Linked DNA regions of Homo sapiens: region 1 is linked to region 2. Evidence: promoter capture Hi-C in 16 types of primary human blood cells and fetal thymus (Javierre and others, 2016). All regions are on one chromosome and are shown on one strand. The core of a region is centred on a gene start or on the middle of the fragment in contact, and the rest is flanking DNA. Distances in the headings are between cores, read along the strand shown.

What was found. The method cuts DNA at HindIII sites, captures the fragments that hold promoters and counts their contacts. A CHiCAGO score of 5 or more calls a contact.
Region 1: a contact is called between a fragment that was not itself captured here and the fragment with the promoter of GP9 in region 2, in 1 of 17 cell types (megakaryocytes). The highest score is 6.7, in megakaryocytes.

Annotation. Positions count from the first base shown.
Region 1 is chr3:128,613,145-128,619,839 of GRCh38, forward strand. No RefSeq gene overlaps it. Among named protein-coding and RNA genes, the nearest start is that of RPN1, 34 kb to the right of the region's middle. RefSeq lists enhancers at 4,676-4,965, 4,759-5,270, 4,986-5,035. The HindIII fragment of the contact is 2,303 bases long and covers 2,460-4,762 here.
Region 2 is chr3:129,055,672-129,062,028 of GRCh38, forward strand. GP9 (glycoprotein IX platelet) reads left to right here and starts at 5,108. Exons shown (of 3, transcript NM_000174.5): 1 at 5,108-5,179; 2 at 5,823-5,948; 3 at 6,057-6,357. The coding sequence starts at 6,069. The HindIII fragment of the contact is 4,040 bases long and covers 4,423-6,357 here.

The DNA of each region.
Region 1 (6,695 bases), core at 2,361-4,860, 440 kb before region 2:
TGTTCACTCGTGTGTGCATGTCTGTGAGCCTCGGTGACAGTCACAGGTGTGAGAGTGGCATGCGCACATCTGAGCATTGGAAGAGCTGCATGTGTGTGCCCATGTGCCTTCTGCGCACCCCCCAGGAGGGTAAACATGAGACGGAGACAGACAGAAGGCCCCACCCTGCTAGCACAGGTCACAGGGGTCAGGAAGGATCCACATTGCATCACAGCACCCCCAGCGTTCACTGACAAGGCAACCATGAGACCCGCCGTAGGGACCTCATACCTGCCTCATCCCAGCACTGTGGAGGAACAGGAATTTGGAAAAATAAAATAAAAACAAAAATCTGTGCTTCCTCCCTCCCTCCACTGAGGCTGCTTCTGGGACTCTGCCTGCACTAACTGGCCCCAGAATCCCAGCTCATCAATGCTAGAAGGCCCTTGGACATCTGTCATTGTGCAGTAAGACTTGAGGCCCAGAGAGGTCAGGGACTTGCCCAAGTTCACACAGGTGCCGGCTGCAGAGAGGGACCTGTCCCAGGTCTGTCTGTCTCAGCGAGGGCTGGCTTCTCCCTCCACACCTAGGGCTCCAACCCAATAGGTGGTTCAGACTGCTGAGACCTCGATCTGCAGTCTGAACCAATGAATAAATGGACATTTATAAAGAAAGCACTTTGTAAACAGCTACTCTTAGTTCAAATCAAAGCATTATACTTGTCACCCTGGTATCTGTCAAAGGAAGAGACTCCTGCTCCTTGAGCCGGTGCTGCGCCAGGGGCTTTCCCAGGCAGCATACCTCTGAGCTCCTTCCAGTCCTGATATCGTTATGGTCCTCATTCTCCAGGTGAGCAATGTGAGGCTCAGAGAAGAGAAACAGAAAGCCCGGAGGCTTGAGTGGGTCAGACACCCATCAGGAGCTTGGCATGAGTATGACAGCTCCTTGACGCAAAGTCTAGGGGGCATGAGTGCTGGGGCCATTGCAGGCACCAGGACCCAAGCCTAGGGGAGAGGAAGCTGGAAGCTGAGAAGCTGGAGCGCTCTAGAGGGCAGGTATGCATGAGACCTGACTTGCAGGCAGGAGGTCCTGCAGCCACCAGAGGCCTGGATGGGGTGAGGAAGAGGCCAAGAGAAAAGAGGCTGAAGGATTTATGGCCACCCAGCCCACACCCTGCTACACCACCCTGCCCAGCTCTCAGCTGTCCTGGGTCTCAGCTCAGGAGTCTCCTCTAAGGGATGCCCTCCTGACCCTCCAGACTACATCCATTTATCATATCACCCATTTTATTTCCTTCATAGCATTTATCACTATCATATTGCTGGTGCCCAAAACAGTGCCCACTACAAAGTGGATTTTTCTTTGGTGTGTGTTTGTATAGTTTGTTTGTTTGTTTTTAGCCATTCAGATTGCATTTATTTGTAACAATACGCATGCAGCCCTCCCTCTGGTCTTCCAGTCCCTGTCCCTCCCAGGGCAGCGCCCTTTCCTGAACACTCCTGTCTACCCTCGGAGTTGCTGACTTTTAGAAATCATAATGAGGCCGGATGCAGTGGCTCATGCCTGTAATCCCAGCACTTTGGGAGGCCGAGGTGGGTGGATCACCTGAGGTCAGGAGTTCAAGACCAGGCTGGCCAACATGGTGAAACCCCGTCTCTACTAAAAATACAAAAATTAGTCAGGCATGATGGTGGGTGCCTGTAATCCCAGCTACTTGGGAGGCTGAGGTGGGAGAATCCCTTGAACCTGGGAGACGGTGGTTGCAGTGAGCCCAGATCACGCCACTGCACCCGGGCAAGATCAGCCTGGGTGGCTGAGCAAGACTCTGTCTCAAAAAGAAAAAAAGAAAGAAAAAAAAAGAAATAACAATGAGCACCCATTTTTCTGTTACTAGCTTTCCTACTCACCTTTGAAAAAGGCAAAAACCTCAACAATGCATAAACCACACATAAGAAGGCAAATTCACAAGGAAAAATGACCAACCTCATCCATTATTTAAAAATGGCAAATAGGCCAGGCATGGTGCTTCATGCCTATAATCTCAGCACTTCAGGAGGCCAAGGCAGGTGGATCACTTGAGCCCAGGAGTTTGAGACCAGCCTGAGCAACACAGCAAAACCCCGTCTCTACAAAAAATACAAAAATTGTTTTTGTTTTCAAGACAGGGTTTCTCTCTGTCACCCAGGCTGGAGTGCAGTGGTGTGATCATAGCTCACTGCAGCCTCAACCTCCTGGGTTCAAATGATCCTCCCAACTCAGCCTCCCAAAGTGTTGGGAGGACATTTATAAAGTCCACTGCACTCAGTTGAAGATATTTGTTGAATGAATGGATGTGCTGCCTCTGTTTAAACTCTGCTGAAATAGAGCACCCAGTGTAGGGAGGCAAACAGTCCATTCCACTTCAGAAAGCAGTGTCCAGTAGTGTAAGGTAGGGACATCTCAGCCCACCTGGAGAATAGGGAAGGCTGCCCAGGAGGCGAAGCTTGAACAGGTCTTTGCTGATCTCCTCAGTGCTAATGAAGGCACAGTCTCTCAGGGCTCTCCCATGAGATCACTGCCTTAAGCCCTCAATCCCACCCAATCCTGCTCTACTGGGATCTATTCACTGGCCCCTTCTCTCCTGGATCTTCAGCCTTTATGTCCCTGTTACCTCCTTCCTTCCCATCAGCATTTGAACAGGCTCCTGTCCTTCCCACTGCTACAGACTGAATGTCTGCATCCCCCCAGAATTCTTATGTTGAAACCTAACCCCCAATGTGAAGCATTAGAGGGTGGCACCTTTGTGAGGTGATTAGGCCATGAGGGTAGAGCCTTCATGAATGGACATTAGTGCCCTTATAAGATACATCCGAGAGTTCCCTCATCTCTGCCACCATGTGAGGACACGAGAAGGTGCTATCTTTGAACCAAGCAGCAGGACCTCTCAACACCAAATCTGCCGGTGCCTTGATCTTGGACTTCCCAGCCTCCAGAACTGTAAGAAGCAAATTTCTATTTATAGCTACCCAGTCTATGGTATTTTGTTATAGCAGCCTTAACAGACTGAGACACTCGTCTTAAATCTTTCTGGATTCTATCCCCTGAGTGGAAGTCAAAAAAGGAGTCTGGGCTCCTCCCTCCCCACCAACCCCCACAAGCAAATCCTTCAGATGCTGCGATGGACCCTCCTGATGGCCCTACCTTCTGACTTGCCTTTCCTGATGCCCAGCACTTCTGCTGTCTGCTCCCTTCTGTGTCCCCTGCATTTAGTCCTGGGCCTGTCACACCACATATGGAACTAAGGGCCTGATGGAAGCTGAGACCCTAAAGGGCTGGGCTGGGGGCACCATGAAGGGGTTGGCCATGGTAGGGGACAGGCTGCATCATTCAGCTTTCGCTTCAGGTCTAGCCCAGTTTGAAGGTTCTCTCTTCCCTCCCTGTCATCTCCCACACCTGCCCAGGCAGGTGACAAAGCAGTCCCCAGATCCCAGGCCACCAGCCCCAGAACCAGGCCAGAGTCCCAGAGTCAGGCCCAGCTTCAAAATGGCGCCAGGCCTCATCCAAAGCATCAGGCCTTTGCAGAGGGCCCTGGGGTACACTCGGGGGCATTTCCTGTCTGAGCCTGCGGCCCCCAACCGCTGGCAGCATGGGCTTCCGGCGGGGCTGCGGCCGGGGCCTGCACTATCAGCTCGGCACCAGACGCCCGGTCAGGATACTTGTGGTGAAACTGTGAGGGCGCACTGGGTCCTTTGGGGTTTTCTCCCATGACAGCCTCCAAGACAAATGGAAGAGAGAAAGTGACACCCAGCCCTTCTTCAGCCGTGTTTTCCCCTCCCTGAGCCAGGGTCCAGGTTCAAGGCTGGGGGACTGCCATGAGGCCACCTATGACTACAGGGACATCCCAAAGCTGCAGCCATGGAAGCAGCCAGGGCCAGGCCACTAGGGTCAGGCATCTTGGCCAAGGCTGGACAAAAGGCACTGTGGCCTGGGGATCTGAATGGGAGTGGGAGTGGGTGGGCCACTCCTATACGGCCACATGAGGGCCACAGAGAAAGTACGCTGGGTCTGAGACTGAGAGGTGTCAGGTGTCTGGGGCATGTCACCTTGCGCCAAGGGATGCCCAGCCTGAACCTGGCTTTACACCTAGGGCCCCACTTCACCTCCTCCCTGAGATTTACAAGGGGGAAACTGAGGCCCTGTTTACTACTGGGGAAACCGAGGATCAGGGAAGCGCAGGGCTGCGCGTGGCGTAGGGCGCTCTGTCCCAGCAACCAAAGGATGTAAGCCCGTAGGTGGGGAGGGCAGCACCGGATGCCCCACTGGGCCCAGGGATGCACCCACCACAGGATGCTGGGGGAGCCACCGGCCTTGGCCAGCCCAGCTAGCCCTGTGGCTTTCCAGGGCAGCTGAGAGCCCAGGTCCCCATGGCTAAGCCCCTCAGCAGCCCAGTGGTCCTGAGCCCGCCGACCCCAGACCCAGTCCTAGTCCGGCCAGAGGAGGCCGTTTACGAGCCCACACCCGTAGGTGGCGCCACAGCCGGAGAATTGGCTTTGGTTCTGTTGGAGCCGCGCCGCCTTTAAATTAGCCCCACGCATGCGCGACTTTTCTAGCCCGAGCCCGCCGTCTGCGCCTGCGATTTCGCCCATACTCCCCGGTGCCCGCCTCGTGACGTGCCGCAGTGTTACGAAGGGACACCAGGGCGCAGGCGCAGCTCGCTCCTCAGGCCTGCGAGAGGCCCGCCGGCCCAGCAGAGGGCGCCCACCAATCTGCACGCGGGCCCAGCGAGTTATCTTGATTTCGGCCAAGCTTTCTGACTGCTCCAAAAAACGAAGAAAAAGATTCAGGGAGAGTAAGAGGATGAAGAGAGCTGGTGAAGCAGCTGACCAAATGGCCCGAGGTGGTATGCAGCCGCGGTAAAGCAGGGCCCCTCCGTGAGGCACAGCCGCCCGGGGGTTCCCTAGGGGAAGCAGGGGCTGCGGCAGACGCCTCTCGGGCAGGTCAGGGTATGCACCCTCCCGCAGGGGCTCCCAAGGCCGGGCGTGCGTGAGGCCAGGTCCACGGGCACACCACTGTGAACACTGATTAAACGTGGCCTCCACGGCTTCCAACCCCCAGGACAGGACCAACCCTCTGCCCCCGGCTCAGGCCAGAGCTCGGCGAGACCGTCGCTGTTTAACAAGCATTTGCTATACGCCACCTTGCATTATGACAGCATGTGACCCACACAGCCATCCTAGGAAGCAGGTAACAGCCCTACTCCATTTTGCACGGAAAGACTTGCCTGAGGTCACAGAGAGCGGCAGGCCTGGGATTTCCATCCAGGGATCCGACTGCAGAGCACGACTCTGGAGGGTCTTCCTTCTTGCTCCTCCCATCCTTCCACTGTCCTTGGATCCCCCATTTTCCCCCTGCACAATCTCCTAATCCCTATGTTCAACTTCTCATTTTCAACTGGATCTTTCCCAATGGCATTCAACACACTTGGTGTCCCCAACCTTAGAGTAGAACATTCAAGCAGCACAGCCTCCTGAAGGCCCTCACTCATCCCTTTCCCAGCCTGTTTGCGAAATGCTTTGTCAGGACTCAAAGTTAAGTCTCACTTCCGTCCAATTCCCATCCCCACACCAACACAGTTCTCAAGTCACCAATGGGTAAAAGGCTTCAGTGATCCACTCCTACAGCCAAAAGGCACTGCTCGGTCTCTTCAGCCTCAGATGGTTCACTCCTGGAAACATTTTTCCACTTGGCTTCATGACACCACAGTCCTGGTCTTTCTCGTCCCAGGTAAGGAGAGTCCTGGTCTTTGTCAACCCAGGTGGCCACTATTACTTTGTCGTCTTAATATTCAGTTCTGGATCTCTTCTTATTCTATACCCTTCCTAGGCACTGTCCCCTCCCACAGCCTCCTTCTCACCTTTTCCATAACCATGTCTAGGCCCGGCAGCCCCACATTTACCACTTGCACACCAGACCTTATAATTCCAGGCCTGAATATCCACCTGCCCAGGGACACTCCCACTTGGATGTCCCGAGCACCTCCATTTTGCCATGTCTGAAACAGAATTCAGCATCAGTTCCTCACAACTGGTCTTCTACAGACTTCCCCAGTAATCCCTCAACCCACCTGCCAATATTTAAGCTGTTTGTAAGCCACTCATGCAAACATTCAATAACCCAACTACGTGTCATAGATTGGTCTGAACACCTAGCTGTTAACATAAAGATGAGCATAAAAGACAAAACCCCTGCCCTATTGAAGCTAGTTCAGTAATCACACACATTCCAACCGTGGTATATGAGGTGGAGAAGAGGTACAAAGGAAAACGAGAGGGTACCACAGGACTTGACTGAGTGTGGCAGGCCACGGATGGCTCCCTGACACAGTAACCTTAAGTAACACATCCTGAGGCTGAGCAGGAATTCATTAGGTGGAGACAGGGAGCGAACTCCTGCAGAGAGGAAAGAGGGGCAGAAAGCCTGGCACTCACTGGCACTGTCGATTCCCCACATGACCTTTCAATCCCTTGCCTCTTGAGAGGAACCATCTCTGCTTTGCTCATCACTGTTTCCTTGATGCTGAGTAAAACATGACTCACAGGAAGGATGCAAAAACTACAAAAATGGAGGCCTCACTCCACTACTCCATTCTGTGACATAAGCCACGTCAACTCTTTCAACACTCTGGCACCACTTTCAACACTCTGGTACTAGAATAACTCAGTGTTCTAATATGTAAA
Region 2 (6,357 bases), core at 3,858-6,357:
TCTTGCTCTGTTGCCCAGGCTGGAGTGCAATGGTACAATCTCGGCTCACTGCAACCTGCGCCTCCCAGGTTCAAGCGATTCTCCTGCCTCAGTCTCCCGAGTAGCTGGGATTACAGGCGCGTGACACCACGCCCAGCTAAATTTTGTATTTTTAGTAGAGAGACAGTTTCATCATGTTGGCCAGGCTGGTCTTGAACTCCTGGCCTCAAGTGATCCGCCCACCTCGGCCTCCCAAAGTGCTGGGATTACAGGCGTGAGCCATCACGCCTGGCTGTCAGGCCCCCCTTTCTTCCCTGACAGTGTGCCAGTGGCCCCTGCCCATGATGACTTCCACAGTGCCTGCTGTGGCCAGACCCCCAGCAAAGCACCTGTCAGGCTTATCTCACTCTTTCCTCACAGCAGTCTGGGAGGTGGGGTCTTTGATTTTCCCCATTCTGCAGATGAGGAAACTGAGGCAGAGATAGGCTAAGACTATTGCCCAAGGTCACAGAGCAAGTAAGTAGCAAAACCAGGTTTCAGAGCAAGGCAGGCTGCTCCACAGGCTGGCTCAGAACAGCCGGGGTGACGGAGACCTGCATCTGCAAAGATCCAGCAAGCAGAGGCTCTGTTCCAAGGGGGTCCAACAGTGGCAGACAGGGTTACCCATTTCCTGTTGGTTGCACACAGGCTAAAAATGCTACCTAATAATCACTGCCTCTTAATCCCCTCTGCTTCCCATGAGAAGGAAAAATTGTCTTGGGGGATATTGAAAGATCCCAGCCTCCAAAGTAAGTTTACCTAAGCAGTTTGCCTCATAATACGATTACCAAACAGAGGCTGTTTCCTTCAGCTCAGGGGACAAGAAAGGAGTGGCTGTCTCCCTCATGTTTCTCGTTATTTGTGTCATAGGCATGTATCACCTGAAATTGCCTGAGAGGCTCAACCAACTTTTAGTCACAAGATCTGCGAACACTTCCCTAGTGGGTGCTGAGGTTCTCCAAGGAGCTGCTGGGCCCATTTGCAAACAGATAAGCAAACGGCTGGGTGAGTGCGTCGAGGAGGGCTTCCCGTAAGAAGTTATGCCCCCGGTGAATCTTAAAGGATGCAGCATGCCAGGCAAAATTCCACAGGGCTCCAGAAAGAGGGCAGTGCAGAGGCAAAAGCACAGACAGAAGTTGGCATGTGGGTGGGGAGTGAGGGACATGGCTAGCCTACCACGAAGCTTCAGATCAGGAAGAGATGAGAGGTGAGGCTGGACAGGGTGGCAGAGGGTGTCCTGAAGACAGCAGGGAGCCATGAAAGACATGGAGCAGGAGTGTAGTGAGATTAAACCTGTATAGTAGAGGCAGAGGCCAGCATCAAGGAGACAGCAGTCCTGGCAAGACACAGATAAGGCCAGCACTAGAGAAGAGACAGCCAGCAAGGCTGACAAGTATGTATTAGATAATGCCCATGGGCCAGGCAGAGGTGCTGGGGAGGGAAGAGTTAATGGGACAGAGTCTCTGCCCTCTTGAGTTTCACATCAATGGGAGGAGACATTTAATAAACACATAAAAATGTAAAAATAAGATCATTTCAGATCCTGATCAATGCTAAGGAAGATATGAAATGGAATATTATGGTACAGAAGGATGGAGCTGTGCCTTGGCAAGGGAGGCCTTTGAGGAGGGGTCATCTGAATTGAGATGAGAATGATGATCAGGAGGAAGCCATGTGGGGCTCTGGGGGAAGGGCACTCCAGGCAGAGGGAACAGCAAGTGCAAAGGCCCTGAGGCAGGAAAGTGCTGGAGTGTTTGAGCAACAGGAAGAAAATTGGTGTGGCTGGACATTGATGAGCAAAGTAGACAGTGGGTGATGGGGTCAAGAAATAGGCAGGGGCCAAGCTACAGGGGGGCCTGTAGCTTCCTGACCACAGGGGCACGGGTTTTCTTTTATTTGCGATGGGAAGCCAAGAAGGCGAACGAAGACCAGAGCAGTAGCAGCACAGGGAGAAGTGGTTAAGTTCTGAATAGATCCTGGTGACTGAAATGACAGGAATTACTGATGGGTTGGACAGCAAGTAGAAGTGACTCTTCAGAGGAGTTTTATGGAAGAGAGAAGCAGAAAAATCAGATGGTAATTGGAGAAAGAGGTGGAATTAAGGAAGGATTTTTCAAAAGGGCAGGATTATAGGTTGCTTCTTTTTTTTTTTTTTTTTTTTGAGACGGAGTTTTGCTCTTGTTGCTCAGCCTGGAGTGCAATGGCGCGATCTCAGCTCACCACAGCCTCCGCTTCCTGGGTTCAAGTGATTCTCTTGCCTCAGCCTCCCAAGTAGCTGGGATTACAGGCATACACCACCACGCCCAGCTAATTTTGTATTTTTAGTAGAGATGGTGTTTCTCCATGTTGGTCAGGCTGGTCTCGAAACCCACTTTAGGCAGACCTAAAGTGATCTGCCTGCCTCAGCCTCCCAAAGTGCTGGGATTGCAGGCGTGAGCCACCGCGCCTGGTCTGGCTGCTCCTAACCTGATGGAATGACCCAGTGAAGGAGAAATTGATCATGCAGAGGAAGGGGCACCTGATGGGGCAATGTCCTGGAAGGATGGAGAGGGGACAACTCACAGCACAAGAGTGGGGCTTGGCCTTCGCCTTGGTTCCTATTGCTGCTGTCACAAGAGGCTTAATGCAGCACACATTTATTTTCTCATTCTTCATCACACAGCTCCTGTGGGTTCTCTTATTCCAGCCCTCCTGAGGTAGATCAGCAGGACCTGTTTTCTGAGCACCTGTCAGGACCCCCGGTCCCCAGCCTGCTGATGGCAGCAGGATCTGGTTGAAACAAGGTGTAGTGAAGAAGCTGGCAGACACCAGAAACCAGCAGATGGGAACGAAAGCAACCGCTAGTTGCCCTCACTGCTCACTAACATAGACACTCCCCCTGGCACCATGGTAGTTTACAAATGCCATGGCAGCACGCCATGGCAACAACCTGAAAGTTACAGGGTTCTGGAAACTCACCACCCCTTTTCTAGAAAGTTTGAAATAACCTGCCCCTGAATTTGCATGTAATGAATAGTGGCTGTAAGTGCAGTTGCCAAAAGCCCACACACTACTGCTCTGGGCACACTGCCTGTGGGGTAGCCCTGCTCCCAGAGAGCAGCACCTCTGCTATGCACTGCTGCTTCAATAAAGCGGCTTTCTTCACCACTGGCTCTTTGACTTCTTTCCTGGCCAAAGCCAAGAGCCCTCAGGGGCAAAGCCCTGATTTGGGGGCTCACCTGCCCTGCATCACTTGTAGGTGGAAATCAAGCTGCTGGCAGGGCTGCATTCCTCTCTGGAGGCTCTGGGAGAATCCACTTGCAGGCTCACCCAGGCTGTTTACAGATCCACTTCCTGCATTATCCTGTGCCTCTTGGGCAGATGGGTATGTATTTACCCATATGGGTAAATACACATGGGGAAAAAGCCTTGCCTGATGTTGGGATGGAGGGAAATTTTTATTTTCTTCTTCCAGTTCATCTGAACATTCTAATTTCCCACAACAAAAATCATTTATTTGTTATTTATGTAGTTTTTTAAATTCACAAAACCCATCTATGTTGATCTAGTTTTTTGTTTTAAGTTGTACATGCTGAAAATAAGGAAATCTCAGAGGCTCAAGAGGAAGGAGGGCACAGGCCCCACCAGATCTGGTCACAACACCTGGCCTGGCAGCTCCAGCACCCCCACTCACTCCAGAACCCCTTACCCACCTGCGTGGGGCTCACTGGTGAATGTGTGCAGGGCAGAGGAGGTGGAACATGCCAAGGCTCCATGGGGAGGGAGGGAAGGGCCAGACAGGCTGAGGCTCCTCTCCATGGTCCAGGCTCCGGTCAGAGTCCCCACTGAGCACATACCAGGGGACCCCCAGCAGCAACCAGGCCCCCGAGCAGGTGTGACATCAGTGGGGGAACAGCACCTTCCCCACCCTTCTCTGAGCCCAGCATCAGTGGGTGGAGGAAGCAGAGCTGGGGCCTGGCAGCCTCTCAGGGCCTCCTAGGAGGGTGAACACCCAAATCCTGCCCTACCCAAATCCAGAACCAGGAGGCGGGGAGAGAACAGGCGGCCTCCCAAGGAAGGACTCACCCTGCTTGGCCATGCAGGAGGAGGAAGGCTGGCCTGAGAAGGATGTGAGACCAAAATAAGAACAAGCACACCCCCACCCCCGTAGGGCCGAGGAATATTCCCGAGGGTCCTGAATGTCAACGAAGTGCGTTTAAAGCCTCCGTCAGCCTTCTGTCTTTGGCTTTTCCTGCCAGGCTTCTGTAACTTCTGTGTTTTTACCCTGTTTTATTTATTTTTTAAGACGGAGTCTCGCTCTGTCACCCAGGCTGGAGTGCAATGGCACGGTCTCGGCTCACTGCCACCTCTGCCTCCTGGGTTCAAGCAATTCTCCATCCCAAAATATATTTATCTTTTAAAGGAAGCTTTATGTCACTAACATAAATGGAAAATGGTGTCCCTCCCCTAAGTAGAATGTGCTCTAGAAGAAAATGTACTGCAAATGTTAAAACCATAGGCCAAAATTCTAGCTAGAGATTCACACTTGGTAGAGGCTCTGCTTCCCAGGCCTACAGCTGTTTGTTAGAAAGAGGCATGGAGAAGCACTAGGCAGGAGCTAAAAACACCATGGCACCAAGAAGAGACTCCGTCCTTGAGTATACAGGAGGAGGGAGGAGAGTTAAAAATGAAGTCACTCTCCCCACCATGGTGTTCTCAGCCAGTGGGAGCTGCCCAGCCCACACCTCTGTGAGGCAGGCAGGACCGGTCACTGCTCCCACTTTACAGATGAGGAAAACTGAGATTCGGAGGAACAACCAGCAGAGCCACGTTTCTCAGGGGTCTCCTAGTTCCCACCTTCTGGGAGCAGGTGAGGGGCCACCCTCAGTCCTCCACAGACCTGATTCCAAAGCCCATCAAGGCACTGGCGGCACAGTGGGACCCCCTTCTATAAACCGGGGTTGAGATGTGGTTCTGTGCCCAAGGCGCGGGCCCCTGAGGGCCTCCTGCCTCTGGAAATAGGCCCCAAGGCTGCACTGGGGGGATAAGCCAGGCTATTTTCATCACTTCCTTCCGCCCGCTCCCGCAGCGGCCACCTCAGCTGTATCCCATAGAGTTGCCACCCAGGCCTCAGCCAGGACCTTTCAGGCCAGACAGGAGCACCTGACCAAAGGCTTCACAGGTAAGTGGCCCTCCGTATTACCCAGCATGGCCTCCCACAGGGAGAGAGGAGGTCAGTTCCTGTCCCTTTAACAAGACAGGGTTGGGTGGGACATTCCCTCTGAGACACCATCTCCTTGGCTGAGTCAAGATGAGTGAGTTGATTTGACACTTATTCACTGGAAACCTGCTGTGGGTAGGGGGAGCTCTGCTGGTGGAGGGGAAACGCCTGTGGGGAAGAACCAAACAGAGGGCCACGGTTGCCGAGACCCGAGTGTGAGTCTGGCCTCTGACACCACACCGGTGGCCCTGGGCACATTGCTTTCCCTCTCTGGGCCTCAGTTTCCCCAAGTCAGTGTTAGCCCAGATGAGTGGTTTTCCAGATGGGGTCCCACTGAGTTCCCCTCCCTGCTCCAGCCAGTGTCCCTGTCCTGCTGTCTTCTGCATCTGGGAATCAGGTAACAGCTCACTTAGCTGGTGGGGGGTGCTGGGCGCAGCCTGCAGGGCCCTCCAAGGCTCTTTCCTAGTCTCTGGGGACTGTGGTCCTGGGCTGGGACTCATTTAGCAGCCATCTGCTCCTCTCATCCCCAAGCAGGGGATGGGGTCTCTGCTAAGGGCCAGGAAGTCCCTTCCCCTTCCCAAAAACAAACTTACCCAATCCACAGCCGCCCTCACCGCCCGGCCTTCTACGGTGTCCAGAGACAGTTAGCCAGGCCTGGGCTGGGCACACTCCACCTTCCCTAGTCACCAGCTGGTTTCCCAGAGGAGAAGGCTGAGACCCGAGAAGGGAGGTGAGTGCACCCCGTCCCATGTCAGGCTCCGCTACATCCCCAGTGCTTGCCGTCCCTGAGGATCGGTCCAGGCTGCCAGGCCCTCCCTCACAGCCCCTCTCTCTGCAGCCAGCCTGTCCCATGCCTGCCTGGGGAGCCCTGTTCCTGCTCTGGGCCACAGCAGAGGCCACCAAGGACTGCCCCAGCCCATGTACCTGCCGCGCCCTGGAAACCATGGGGCTGTGGGTGGACTGCAGGGGCCACGGACTCACGGCCCTGCCTGCCCTGCCGGCCCGCACCCGCCACCTTCTGCTGGCCAACAACAGCCTTCAGTCCGTGCCCCCGGGAGCCTTTGACCACCTGCCCCAGCTGCAGACCCTCGATGTGACGCAGAACCCCTGGCACTGTGACTGCAGCCTCACCTATCTGC